Linked DNA regions of Homo sapiens: all the other regions are linked to region 3. The links are contacts of gene promoters, found by promoter capture Hi-C in blood cells and fetal thymus (Javierre and others, 2016). All regions are on one chromosome and are shown on one strand. Each heading gives the region's core, a stretch centred on a gene start or on the middle of the fragment in contact. The rest is flanking DNA. Distances are from core to core; before and after follow the strand shown.

Evidence for each region. The method cuts DNA at HindIII sites, captures the fragments that hold promoters and counts their contacts. A CHiCAGO score of 5 or more calls a contact.
Region 1: a fragment that was not itself captured here is called in contact with the fragment with the promoter of GSX1 in region 3 in 2 of 17 cell types (endothelial precursors and megakaryocytes); the score reaches 5.6 in endothelial precursors.
Region 2: a fragment that was not itself captured here is called in contact with the fragment with the promoter of GSX1 in region 3 in 1 of 17 cell types (naive B cells); the score reaches 5.6 in naive B cells.

What each region holds. Positions count from the first base shown.
Region 1 is chr13:27,556,710-27,560,762 of GRCh38, reverse strand. LNX2 (ligand of numb-protein X 2) reads left to right here. Exons shown (of 10, transcript NM_153371.4): 6 at 778-921. Among named protein-coding and RNA genes, the nearest start is that of LNX2, 62 kb to the left of the region's middle. The HindIII fragment of the contact is 1,141 bases long and covers 1,510-2,650 here.
Region 2 is chr13:27,971,964-27,975,794 of GRCh38, reverse strand. No RefSeq gene overlaps it. Among named protein-coding and RNA genes, the nearest start is that of CDX2, 4.6 kb to the right of the region's middle. RefSeq lists enhancers at 3,183-3,829, 3,830-3,831. The HindIII fragment of the contact is 3,920 bases long and covers 1-3,499 here.
Region 3 is chr13:27,790,871-27,795,056 of GRCh38, reverse strand. GSX1 (GS homeobox 1) reads right to left here and starts at 2,574. Exons shown (of 2, transcript NM_145657.3): 1 at 1,955-2,574; 2 at 289-1,491. The coding sequence starts at 2,366. The coding sequence ends at 1,109. RefSeq lists enhancers at 1-235, 1,844-2,647. The HindIII fragment of the contact is 6,142 bases long and covers 1-3,916 here.

The DNA of each region.
Region 1 (4,053 bases), core at 831-3,330, 230 kb after region 3:
TCAAATAAATTAGACTTATAATTTAAAAGGAAGTATTAAATAACTTGTAAAAATGTAACCAATGTAAACATATGTTCAAAATATGATAGCTAACAAGCCTCTAAATTTAAAACGACAGTCATGAACCTCTAAAATAATTTAACACTGGAGACGTGTGTCACATTCACACAAGTATGCTATATATATATATATATATACACACATACATATAAAGTCTTGTTATGCAGGATTTCTGTAGTCATTCTTTTCAAGAATGTTGAAGCCGATATCCTACTTTTGACTCAGACCTATAGCAGCAGAAACAAAGCTGTGCAGAATTTCATTATGATTTCTGAAGTAGCCACCATGGAAATTTATTTCAAAAGTCACAATGGACTTTAATCAAGTTTTGAAGCAGTTCTTCCTTTTATTTCCTTTGCTCTGTCTTGCAATATTAAGGCCAACCTTGAAGATGCAAAGAAGTATTACAAGAAAAGTTACCAATCATGGGGCAATAAGAGCCCAGGCAGTGTGACCACTTTGCCTTGGTCATTTTGGAGGTGGGGTTGCAGACGGCATGCCCAAGATTTTTGTGTGTATGTGCTTCAACTGCTGAAGTTTTAAGATATTAGCTAATGAAATGAACTCATTCCTCTTGCCACCAGGTGCTTGCAGTCACTGTCCAGATGACGCCCTGGTACAGTGATTAAGAAGTTCATTGAAAATTACACTGTGTGTAATCTTTAAAATGACAAACATCATTAGTCACTTATGGTAATGTATTTGTGTTTTCTCCAGGCCAGTGGAGAGAGAGTGAATTTAACAATTGCTAGACCAGGGAAACCCCAGCCTGGTAACACCATTAGAGAAGCAGGAAATCATAGCAGCAGCAGCCAGCACCACACACCACCACCGTATTATAGCAGACCAAGCTCACATAAGGTGAGGATTTTTTTTTTTTTTTATGCCACCATCAAAGGATCATTGTTACAAGCTGGTAAGATTTAAATGAAGGTTTTTTTGTGTGTCAGTCACACCTCAATAAAGCAGTTTTTTTAAAAAAAAGATTCAAATGAGGGTTGTTATTCTGTTGAAAAATATAGGTGTTTGGAATATGAAATGTATATGTTTTGCTACCTTGGAAAGTGACTGCTTTGTTCCTTAGATCTGGAGATAGTTTCTTGGAGGGGAAGTTTCCTTTGCCAGGCGATTAACAAGAAGCGTGAAATCTTCTATCTGTTTAATCCTACTTGAAAGTGGAATTTATCTTGGGTTGCTTATTTAAATATAAGAGTTAGTTGATGAAAAAACATAAGACAAGATTGACAAATCTATGCTTAATAATTGAGCCTGTTGCCTACAGAACCTGAATTAGATACATGAAGATTAAACATATGAATCATGAATTTTGATAGGTACATATATAGCATATTTACGTATTTGATAGGTACATATATAGCATATTTCTTTTTATGTTAAAGCTTAGAGGAATATTACCCTAAATCATTTAAAATTTCCATATGTTAAGCTTTGTTACTGTTTCTTCAGAATCAGTATTTCACTGGTTTTATAATGTATTCTACCTGAGCTGAGAATTTTGATGCTACCTCACTTTCAGTCCAAAAATCTGAAAGGATGATACTTTAGCATTCTTGATATTATTTACTTCATTTCATCCTTCATTTGAACTCTTAACTTCCAGTGGGCCAGAAGTTTTAAAACAATGATGTTATGCTTACCCAATTATGCAAAAATAAAAGCTAAATGTGACCTACCAGAGTAATTCTCCTTAAGTAAAATTAAATTGCTTTACTAAGCAAAAACTTATTTATTGTCACCTGAAAGTAACATTTGAGTGAATAATTAGCTTTGGAGTCTGTCTCTGGTACCCTAAGAAAGCATAGCTTAAAGACACAGTATTTTTGGCCCATTGGGTTTATATGGTTTTCTGAGCTTAAGTTCTCTACAGACTTGTCATTGGTCTTTGATTTAGTTAATACTAAAAAGAAATTATAATCACAGACTTCATTCTCATTTCTGAGCAAAACCAAAATGTATGAAGGAAACCTATAATTTGCCTTTAAATAATGACTGTGGAAAAGGGGTAATTGTTTTAAACAGGACTTTTTGAATAGGTGTTGTTTCATATAGCTAGTCCTTGCTTTACAAGTTTTTTATACATATAAAACTATAATATAAGGTACAAGTTGATAATTGAATCTTTTATGTTATTGAATTTTATAATTTGAGATAGGGGTGTATATAACAACATTATAGTTTTAAGAGAGTTTGAAAAACTGTAATTAATAATTCCAGTATTCCTATAGCAAACTCTCCTTAATTCAATTTGTTGTGGGCACATGTATTTTTCTGTCATAACTATGCTAATTCTCATTCTCTTTAATTTTATATGACAATGTTCTAAATAGTGATGCTGAATTTATTCTATTCCAGGCACTCTGCAAACCTGGCTGGTTAGAAAAACCACTTGAAATGGAATGTGTTCATTTAGCTATTTACTACTAAGATGCTCCATTTGTTTTGTCAAATCCTGATACAGAAAAGTAAAGGTCTCCTAGGGAAAACACATACACATTCACCAAAACAATCTTTTCAGACAATTATAATCATTCTGAAAAAATTAAAGTATATATTAGTCTTCTATAAAGCTTCCCAGTAGCTGTTCTGATAAACATTCATGTTTGTTTTAGGAAGTTCCTTGAAGCAAACTGAGTATAATCTTTGAAGTTTGGTTGGGTTCCTGGGTAAAAATTGCATACATTTTAGACACCTAGAGTAATAAAATACCCACACTTTGCTTAAATATGTAAGGGCTGAACCTGCTTAAATGAATATACTCAAGGTTGAGTTTACCTGAGTTGTCTTCAGAATAAAGTTGTGTTTGTCTAATTTTGAAGGCTGCTGACAAAAATTTCATACCTTTAGATAGGAGATTGCCTTAAAACATTTACAGATTTTCTCCTTGGTCATAACATTTTCTGGGAATACTATGCTGCTATTACACATAGCTCCTTTGGTAAAATTTCAAGAGTATAGATTTCACATCTGGAGAAGGGTAGATAGGCCTAGAATTCCAGGCCCTGATTTAGAGATTTGATAAATGCCATTATTAACAGTTAAATACATGTCAATTCTCTAATGTGATTTAAGGAAATGTTATAATTCTGTGAATGTAATTTGTATTTTTTATATTATTAACAATTTTAATTATCTACAACATTCTCTTAACAGTTAATAAGTGTTAAAACCTTCTGAGACATTATCTTACACTGTACACTTAATGGGATAGTTCTTGTGTAGGTGCATATATACAATATGTACATGTAGTCTATCACACTATATAAACATATACAAAATACTATTTGTATTAATATATAGTACATTCTTTTAACATACGTAAATTTTGAATCCCAGGACAGTTGCCTATATTAACATGATTCAGGACAAGTTACATGACCTCCCTAAGTTTGTTTCATCATCTGTAAAATGGGGTCAATAATAATATATAATTTCAGGACTTTTGTGAAGGTTAAATGAAATAATGCATGTAAAGGCATTAGCTTTTCACAGGCTAAGCCCAAATGTTAATTATTATTTTAATATTAATATTGCATATGTACATCTTATTTTTTACTGAATTCTAATTCAAAAGAAAAGTGATGTTTTAAATTCTTTTTCTTCCAGGAACATCTCAATAATAAGTAGTAGTAACAAATGTCAGTAAAAATAGGAGATATTAATTTGTTGGGAATTTATTTCCCTGTCATTAACTTTTTCAAAAATTCAGTCATTTTATATCCTTTTAGCTTTTCATGAAGATTTTGAAGGTAGATTTGCATCTTCTTCATGATTGAGCACTCATAGTAGTAGTCAGTGAGAATCAGGAGATAGGTCGATGACCTTTTTCTGGCAGTTGCCAAAATCTACACTTTTGTACTACTCTGTCAACTTTTCTGTCAAAGAAATGGGGGAAAGATGGAAGTAAAATTAATTGATTTGTCTTCAGAATCTTAAAACTCAAAAGCATCATTTACTTTTGTGAAGTTGATCAAA
Region 2 (3,831 bases), core at 290-2,789, 180 kb before region 3:
AGCTTGCGCGGCAATCATCGCGCCTTGACTCTAGGCCCGGCTGCTCAGGGAAGGACAGCCCAGGGCGCGCCCAGCGAGCTTCAGGGGGTACGGAAGTGGTTAGGGCAGATTTCAGGGTGAACAACTAATATTTTACTTACCAATTCGTTAAAAACAAAGAAAACAAAACCAATCGCGGTGGCAAGGCCAAGAAGAGTTGGAAGGCAAAGAGCTGATTTCAATTTCTGTAACCCGACGACCCTCCAGGCACAGGCCCTTACGAAGTGGGGGCAGCTTTGTGGATTTTCACTTCCCTTGGAAATGTCCAAGCCCCGGCAGGAGAACGCTCCCAGTAAAGAGACGGGAGAGCGCAGCTCCGGATGAGAACTCAGGAGCCGACCCGGGCTTGTCACTCACCTGTGTAACTTAACTGGGATACGGAATGGGGCCTCCTCTTTATTAACCCAGAAAGGTAGGCATTTTGGTCTGTGTGCCCAAAAGATGTCTACAGACACTAAAATTGGAAGGAAAGAAAGGGAAAAGGGCAACATAAATTCTATACATGATCTTTACCCATTTTAAATATGACACATTTCTAGAGATTAGCCACAGGATATCAGTTCTGACTGATTTTTTTTTTTTTTTGAAACGGAGTGTCACCCTGTCGCCCAGGCTAGAGTGCAATGGCGTGATCTCGGCTCACTGCAAACTCCGCCTCCCGGGTTCAAGCGATTCTCCTGCCTCAGCCTCCCAAGTAGCTGGGATTACAGGCGCGCGCTTCCACTCCCAGCTAATTTTGTATTTTTGGTAGAGACGGGGTTTCACCATGTTGGCCAGGCTGGTCTCGAACTCCTGACCTCGTGATCCACCCGCCTCAGCCTCCCAAAGTGCTGGGACTACAGGCGTGGGCCACGGCGCCCGGCCCAAGAGGAGTTATTCTAAGAAAGTATTTACTGTGAGACAAAAGTAGATGGATACCATCTTTGTCAACTGGAGAAAAATCTGGGATGGAATTTATGGAAAATTCATGCAATAAATGAATAAACCACAGTTATGGGGTGCCTGTGAAAGACATAGGACCTGGAGCATGGTCAGAATTGTAGCAATAGCAGAACCTGATTGTTCTGGTGCTATTTGGTGCAGGGGGTGGGAGTGGGAAAATGGGATTCTCTAATCGTGCTAGTTGGTTTTGTGTTTGGGGTGCCATGTTGCCAGGGTGGCACCAGCAGCTGTAGTAATAATAAACATCTATACAGATCGCTATGGGTTGCAAAGAATGCACATACTGTAGCTCATTTACTTTAAGGGACTTGAACAGCTAGCTGTGCAACTTGGGGAAAATCACCTAACCTCTCTGAGCCTTGGGTTCACCTTTGTAAAATGGAAAGGTTACACAGACTTTAAGACCCCTGACTCCCCTCCAGGGAATGTAGCTAGCCAATGGGACAGTAACTCAAGAGGAGCAGAACCTTTATTTAAGCTCCTTCCCTTAGCCACATGAAACTTACCCTGTAGGACTTCCTAGGAACATATTTTCATGTGGCAAACAAAGGTCATTCCAGGCACGAGACAATGGTGAGGGAACAAATGTTCATTGAAAGTTCTCCACGCCAAAGCCACGTGGTAACAGTTGGCTGGTGCTGCCCGGGGAGCCTGGGCTCCTAGCATCAAGAGGTTTCCTTTGGGGTGGAAGTTCTGGTTCCCAGTAGGGACACCAATCTTTGAGACCTCCAAGTCACTCCCTCTTGTGGATTTAAATCATCCTCTGTCCTCACCCACCACAAAGAATGTGTTATACAATGCCCAGTGTCCACAGGCCCTAGTTTCAGAAGAAAGGAAGAAAATGGGCAACGACTATTTATTTGCCTAACTTTTACCCAATGTACCAAACCAGATTTCTGTACCCAAATATTACCCTTTCTCCTGAGGCTCTTAATTTTCCTTGATCTCTTGGATGTGAGAATATATTTTGGATAGAGAAGCATAAAAAAAAAAAAAAAGTTGTTCCCTGCCTTGGATCAGAAATCTTGGTGGTCTCTTCACAACAAGAGTAAAACAGCTGGCTTTTCTTATCCCATTATCCTGCAGCCTGGTCCCTGAGTGGTAACATGTTAGCCCACAATGACCTCCCAATTAATTCAGAAACCTTTCCTCAGGTAGAGAGGGTCAGACACCCAGTTTGCTTGGGAAGAAAATATGCTTCACTCCACTGGGCAAGGAGACATCTGCTTCTGTGAATGAAGCCTGGGCGGCTGTAGGCAGCTGCGGCCCCTCCCTGCTGTTCAGGATGGACATGTTGGGATCCACTGTGGCCTGATGGGGCTGGACAGGTGGCGGACTCTCCGGAGGCCCTACAGAAAGGACGATGTCATTGATTTCCTTCCCAGAGATGTTAGCTGAGTGGGCTGTGGCAGGGCAAGGCAGGGTTGTTGGGGTCAAACCAACCATTATTGAGCCTTTCTTTGTGTGAGTAGATGGCTGATTGAGTGCAATGGCTGAAAGACTCCCTAAACTCCAAATTAAGTAGAGATTGAGCTGTTTTTCCACATCAGTATAGATGGCCAAGCTGAATAATTTTGAAAGCTGACATTCTCTTCCTTTTCACTCCTCCTTAATTATCCCTGGAATTCAGGTCAATGCAAGGTAAGAGTTTCCTGTGCAAGGTATAGAAGGACTATATTATTTGGATAGTTTTATTTTCCTTTTTTCAAATTAAAAAAATTTTTAGAGACAGGGTCTCCCTCTGTCACCCAGGCTACAGTGCAGTGGCACAACCATAACTCACTGTAACCTCGAACTCCTGGGTTCAAGCCATCCTCCAACCTCAGCCTCCCAAGAAGCTGAGGCTATAGGTGCATATCACCACACCCAGCTAATTTTTCAATTTTTTTTGTAGAGATAGGGTCTTGCTATCCTGGGCTCAGGTGATCCTCCTGCCTCAGCCTCCTAAAGTGCTGGGATTACAGGTGTGAGCCCCTGTGCCTGGCTGGACAATTTTCTTGATCTAAAAAAGATTCAGAAAGTCAACCTACATACTAAGGTGGATAGAGATGGCCTGCCCTAACTGGGTTATGTTAGCCAATGGGCTCCCCAGTTTCCAGGAGCCACAAATATCGGGCAGAGCATGGTCCCCTTAGTCAGAGCAAATATTAGGACCTTTGAACAGGGAGGGAGCTGTGTCAGTGATGTCTGGATTTCAGGAGTTTTTCATCTGCTTGGAGGGGCAGCCCGCCCTTCCAACAGCCTCCTGCTTCCCACCCCCTTTGTGGCCCCTGCCCTTGCCACCAGCCAGGATCCTGCATGCCTGGACCCTCTCTGAAGAATGTGGAATGGCCTCTACTCTGTCAGTAACAGAGGCATCCTTTTGATAACCTGATCGTGGCCACTCCTGCAGTTTTACTGTTGCTTCATTTACCAGGGTCTCTTTTTTTCCCCACCCTTTGCTGCCCTTAGATGTCAGCTCTAGCTCTGGCTCTGTGGGGTTGCAGTTTCAGCCCTAGGCCAACCGCAGGCCCAAGCTTCCCAAACAAGTTTGCCTCTCCCAGAGTGAGTTGCTACAGGCTTCTCTGGCCCAGCAGCAGGACTTACAGGGTAGAAGGGCCCTTCTGGCATCGAGGGTTAGGGATGACCATCCCTGTCCCTTCCTGGGGGCTTCTCAGTGCAGGCCAAAAGGCTCCTAAGAAAGACGCCAAGCACCTGGGGCCTAGGACTAAGAAAGCCCTGCATGGGGCCTTGATGTGGGTGGCTTCTGCCTCCTCCCAGGGACACAGGCCTGCACTTAGAAGCTGGAGAGGCTGCCCCTGAGCAGAGCGAATCTCCAGAGGCCAGTCATGGGGCACCAACCTGCTAGGG
Region 3 (4,186 bases), core at 1,325-3,824:
CGCTTGTGCGCCACGCCGGAGCGGGACAATCGTTAGCGCGCACCTGGCTGGCATGCAAGGCGGGCTCTCAGCGGAGCTGAGGGTTCCGAGAGGCACTGGCTGAGCTGTAAGGCGAGGAGCCGGCTCGGACCCTGCAACTGGATCCCCAACCCTTCCCAGAAGGGAGGCCCAATCCGGGTTGGCGCCTGTCTACTCCAGAGCGAAGGCCTCTGGGCTCAGAGCCACGGGCATTTCTAAGAAAAAAAAAAGTTTATTTAAAATTTTGTACATAAATAAATAAATAAATATCTTCTGGCATTGCAGAGGCCGTACAATTACACAGCTAGGCTGGGGCGGGCCAGAGTCTGGAGGGGGAAGAGTGGGGTCGCCAGCGGCGCAGAGCGGGGTCCTATGTTTAGAGGAAGGAAGAGCGTGTTGGAAACAGAGCAAATCTGTTTCCCCAATATGGATACTACGGGCGAAATTTATCATCTGTGAGAGGAGCCGTGGGGACTGAGGACAGCAAGGCCAGATCAAGGGACAAATGGACTGACTGAAGGAGGAGGCTCCCTGAGGAGGGGAAGGGAAAAGGAGAAGGAAAAAAAAAGTGGGGGTTCATAAATGTGTGTGTTGGCGGGCGGGGGCCGAGTGAATAAATGATCACAGGAAAGAGGTGGGGAGGGACAAAAAGACATTTTAAAAAGAGAAGCGAACGAGCATCCAAGGCCGCCGACCTTGACCGAGAGCGGAGGAGAGTAGAGTAAGCGAGGAAGCCCAAGCCAGCCCAGAGAGGGCGGGCTAGGAGGCGCCGGCTGCCAGCAAGGCGCTGCGCCAAGCAGGCTTGCGGGCGGGGGCCGCGGTGCTGCACTGCCCAGGAGGACTCGAGCGCTTACAGTGTTCACAGCTTGGAGTTGGCTTTGGACACGAGCGAGCCCTGGGGCGGGGACGCCATGGTCCAGTCTCTGCCAAGCTCTCAGCCCTGCCCAGGCCCGGGACCTCTGCAAAGCAGTGCCAAATCCATGCCAGGCAGTGGTTTGGCTGCGGGTGCCTGGGAATCAGCGCTGAGTCCCAGGACTAGTCTCCGAGGCGCAGGGAGGTCTTGGGGTGGGCGACCTAGGGAGACACGCGCCTAGGGAGTGACCGTAAGATCCCGGTCGTCCTTCCCTGAGGAGGACGGAGACATGGGCAATTCGTCGTCATCCTCGGAGCACTTGGCTGAGGAGAGCGATGCGCACTTGCAGCCTTGCGGTGCGCTCCCGCCACCACCGGCACCCCCGCCGCCGCCGCCACGATGGTTGCTGCCCTTGCCCTCCTTCTTGTGCTTCACTCGGCGGTTCTGAAACCAGATCTTCACCTGCTTCTCGGACAGATTCAGGTAGGTCGCGATCTCGATGCGACGTAGGCGGGACAGGTACATATTAGAAGCGAACTCGCGCTCCAGCTCTAGCAGCTGCGTGCTGGTGAAAGCCGTGCGCATCCTCTTGCTGCTGGGCAGCTGGTTAGAGCTGCTGTCTGGAGGTGGCAGAGCAGAGAAGGAAGCGATCAGACCTCTGTGCTGTGGACCCAATCCCTTGGTAGGCGGTCGCCAGAATCCTACGACTTTGACCTCTTACCCATCTCTTCGCCCCAACACAATCCACAGCAGAGCTACAGTGAGCGCTCCTTGTCCAGCTCCGAGATCCTGATTCTCCCGGAGTCATGCAGCCCTGGAACCCCTTCCCCTTCATGGAGAGCCTTGGATCCCAGCCCTCACTTACCCCGGCCCACACTCCAGGACCTGGACGTCTGCCCTCATCCGCCTCCTGGCGTTGTGTCCCGGCCCTCTATCCTCACTCCACCCCAAGCGCCCCCCTTAGTCCCCGACATGACCCTCACCGCCCCCAGAAAGCCCAGGGTCCCTCTTCCTCCATCTCTGGCTCTCCATCCTGCTTCGGATCACCTCTGCCCGGTCCCTCTGCGCGGCGGCCCCGCTTACCCACAGAGATGCAGTGGAACTGCCTGGGGTCAGGCAGCGGGTAGGAGGTCTGGTAGAGCGCGGCGGCAGCAGCAGCGGCGGCCGGGCCGTGAGCGACCCCGGGCGACACAGCAGAGTGCTGGCGGCCCAGGGGCGCGTGGCAGTACTGCGAGCCGAAGGGTGGGAAGGAAGCCTTGAGTAGAGGCAGCGCGGGCGGCCCGGGGGGCCCATGCAGCTGCGAGGCGGTGACGCAGAGCGGGCACACGCACAGCAGCCCAGCCTTGCGCGCGTGGCAGGCGCCAGGCGAGAGACCGTGCAGCGCGTGCGGCGGGGGCACAGCGTAGGGGAAGAGCGGCGGCGGGCTGCCCTCGGGCGCCTTCTTCTCGCCCGCCTCGCGCAGCACTAGCGAGTCCACCAGGAAGGAGCGCGGCATGGCCCCGGCGCGCGGTCGCCCCGCAGCCAGCCCGCCCTCTGCGCCCACCGCACCTTTCGGCTCTCCACGCGCTTTCCCTGGCCGCGGTATCCCGCAGCTGCCTCTGCCCAGGAGGCTGAACGCGCGGCTGAGACCTAGGCTGAAACAGTAGCCTCTGCTGCCGTGGGCACCGCCCAAAGAGCGCGGGGTGCTGGCCAGCGCTAGTGGTGCTGAAAGGCGCCGGCGGCGCGGCTTAAATAGGACTATTGCCATGTGATGGACTACGCCAGGAGCGGCCGGGGCCTCTCAATAGGGTTTTTGTGCCTTTTCTCTTGGCATTCACTCTGCACGCTTCCTCATTATTTCACTTGTTAACTAAATGAACTGCATAATGTACTCTATTCTTGTCAACCCCACCCACGCCGTAACAGGCGCCCTCGCCCCCTCCTCTCCCTTTTGCGGGTTTATTTTCTCATTCTCCCGCGATTTAATATTCTTTCCTTTCTCTTTATTTCTTACTCCCCTTTGGCTTTGCATTGGCCATCAGCCCGTTCACCTTACTGATTTTGCACCCCCGCGGCCTCTCTTCTACAGATCCCCATGGGCGCACACCCTCATATCCTCTGTCCACTTGGTCCTGGTCCCCTTCTTTCTATTATCGCCCTTACACCCCAAAAGTATGCTGTCTCCAGTCAGCCCTGTCAGCTCAGTGCCGTGCACCCCCGAACCTCCCTCCAGCCGGTCTCAGATTTTCCACCTGTGGAATCGCTTCTCTCTCTGCGTCGGAAGAAGGAGGACCGGGTTCCCGCGTGAAGGAGGCGTCTGTGGGGAGGGAGGAGAAGGGCTCATTATTCCTTATCCAGCCCTAGACCCATCGCTGTCCCTCGGTTTTCTCTAAGTTTCTCAAATAGTCTTAATTTTGGTGCTGCCTACGACGCCCAGTCTTTGTTCGGTAGATGCTGGCCAACCAGCCCTTTCCTTCAAATGACAGGGCCGTGGATGTAAAAGAGGAAAAACAGTCTCTGAGCGTTACGAACAGAGACAGGGAATGGGGAATGAAAGCCGAGATGGCGCAGATCTAGATCTCGCACCCCAGCACATGTGGCGAGTGCGGACTGTCTGCCCGCGCATCTTGCCCACACCCTGTCTACTGGAGCACACTTCCAGCAGTGCGCTGGGAAACCGCTGCCATCTCTTAGTTTGGAACGGCGCGAAGGGCGGTTGTATTCCTGGCATCGGCTGCCTTTGCCCACCCTGACCCGCCTCCGCTCTCCCCAAGACCCGGCTTCTTCTTCCTGCCGCGTCACTCTTCTTTCTGGTCACACAATGGTTAAACAACTTCAAACGCTCAGAGCTGTGTACACAGCTCCAGCTTTTTAAATCGTTCTCGGGCTCAAAGCTGTTTCGCCCAGGAGCTTTTTCCATACAATGGGAAATCAGCATAAACATTTCTAATTTACAGCCCGGGACTTTTCACAGGAGACGTTTACTTTCGATTTTATTGGAACCAAATCGCTGCAGTCACCTGCTCTGAGCCCTGAATGGAATTGTGAGAAATGGAGGGGGAAGCTTAGGGGTCTGGGGAAGCAGTGCGCAGGAATAAGATTGCCCAAACCCGAAGCATCTGCATGGGCTTTTATCCTTGGCAACATCTTTGCAATAACAACAGCAACAGATTATAACTGATTAAAAAGCAAAGATAATTTGTTTTGCGAGATAATAACTGCTTCTGTAAAAGGGAATAGGACAATGGGAGAAGTAACCTGCATGGAGGGCATGGCATCTAGCAGGAGTAAGGGTTCAATGTTTTCTTGGTTGCTTGGCATGGAGTGGGGGGCAAG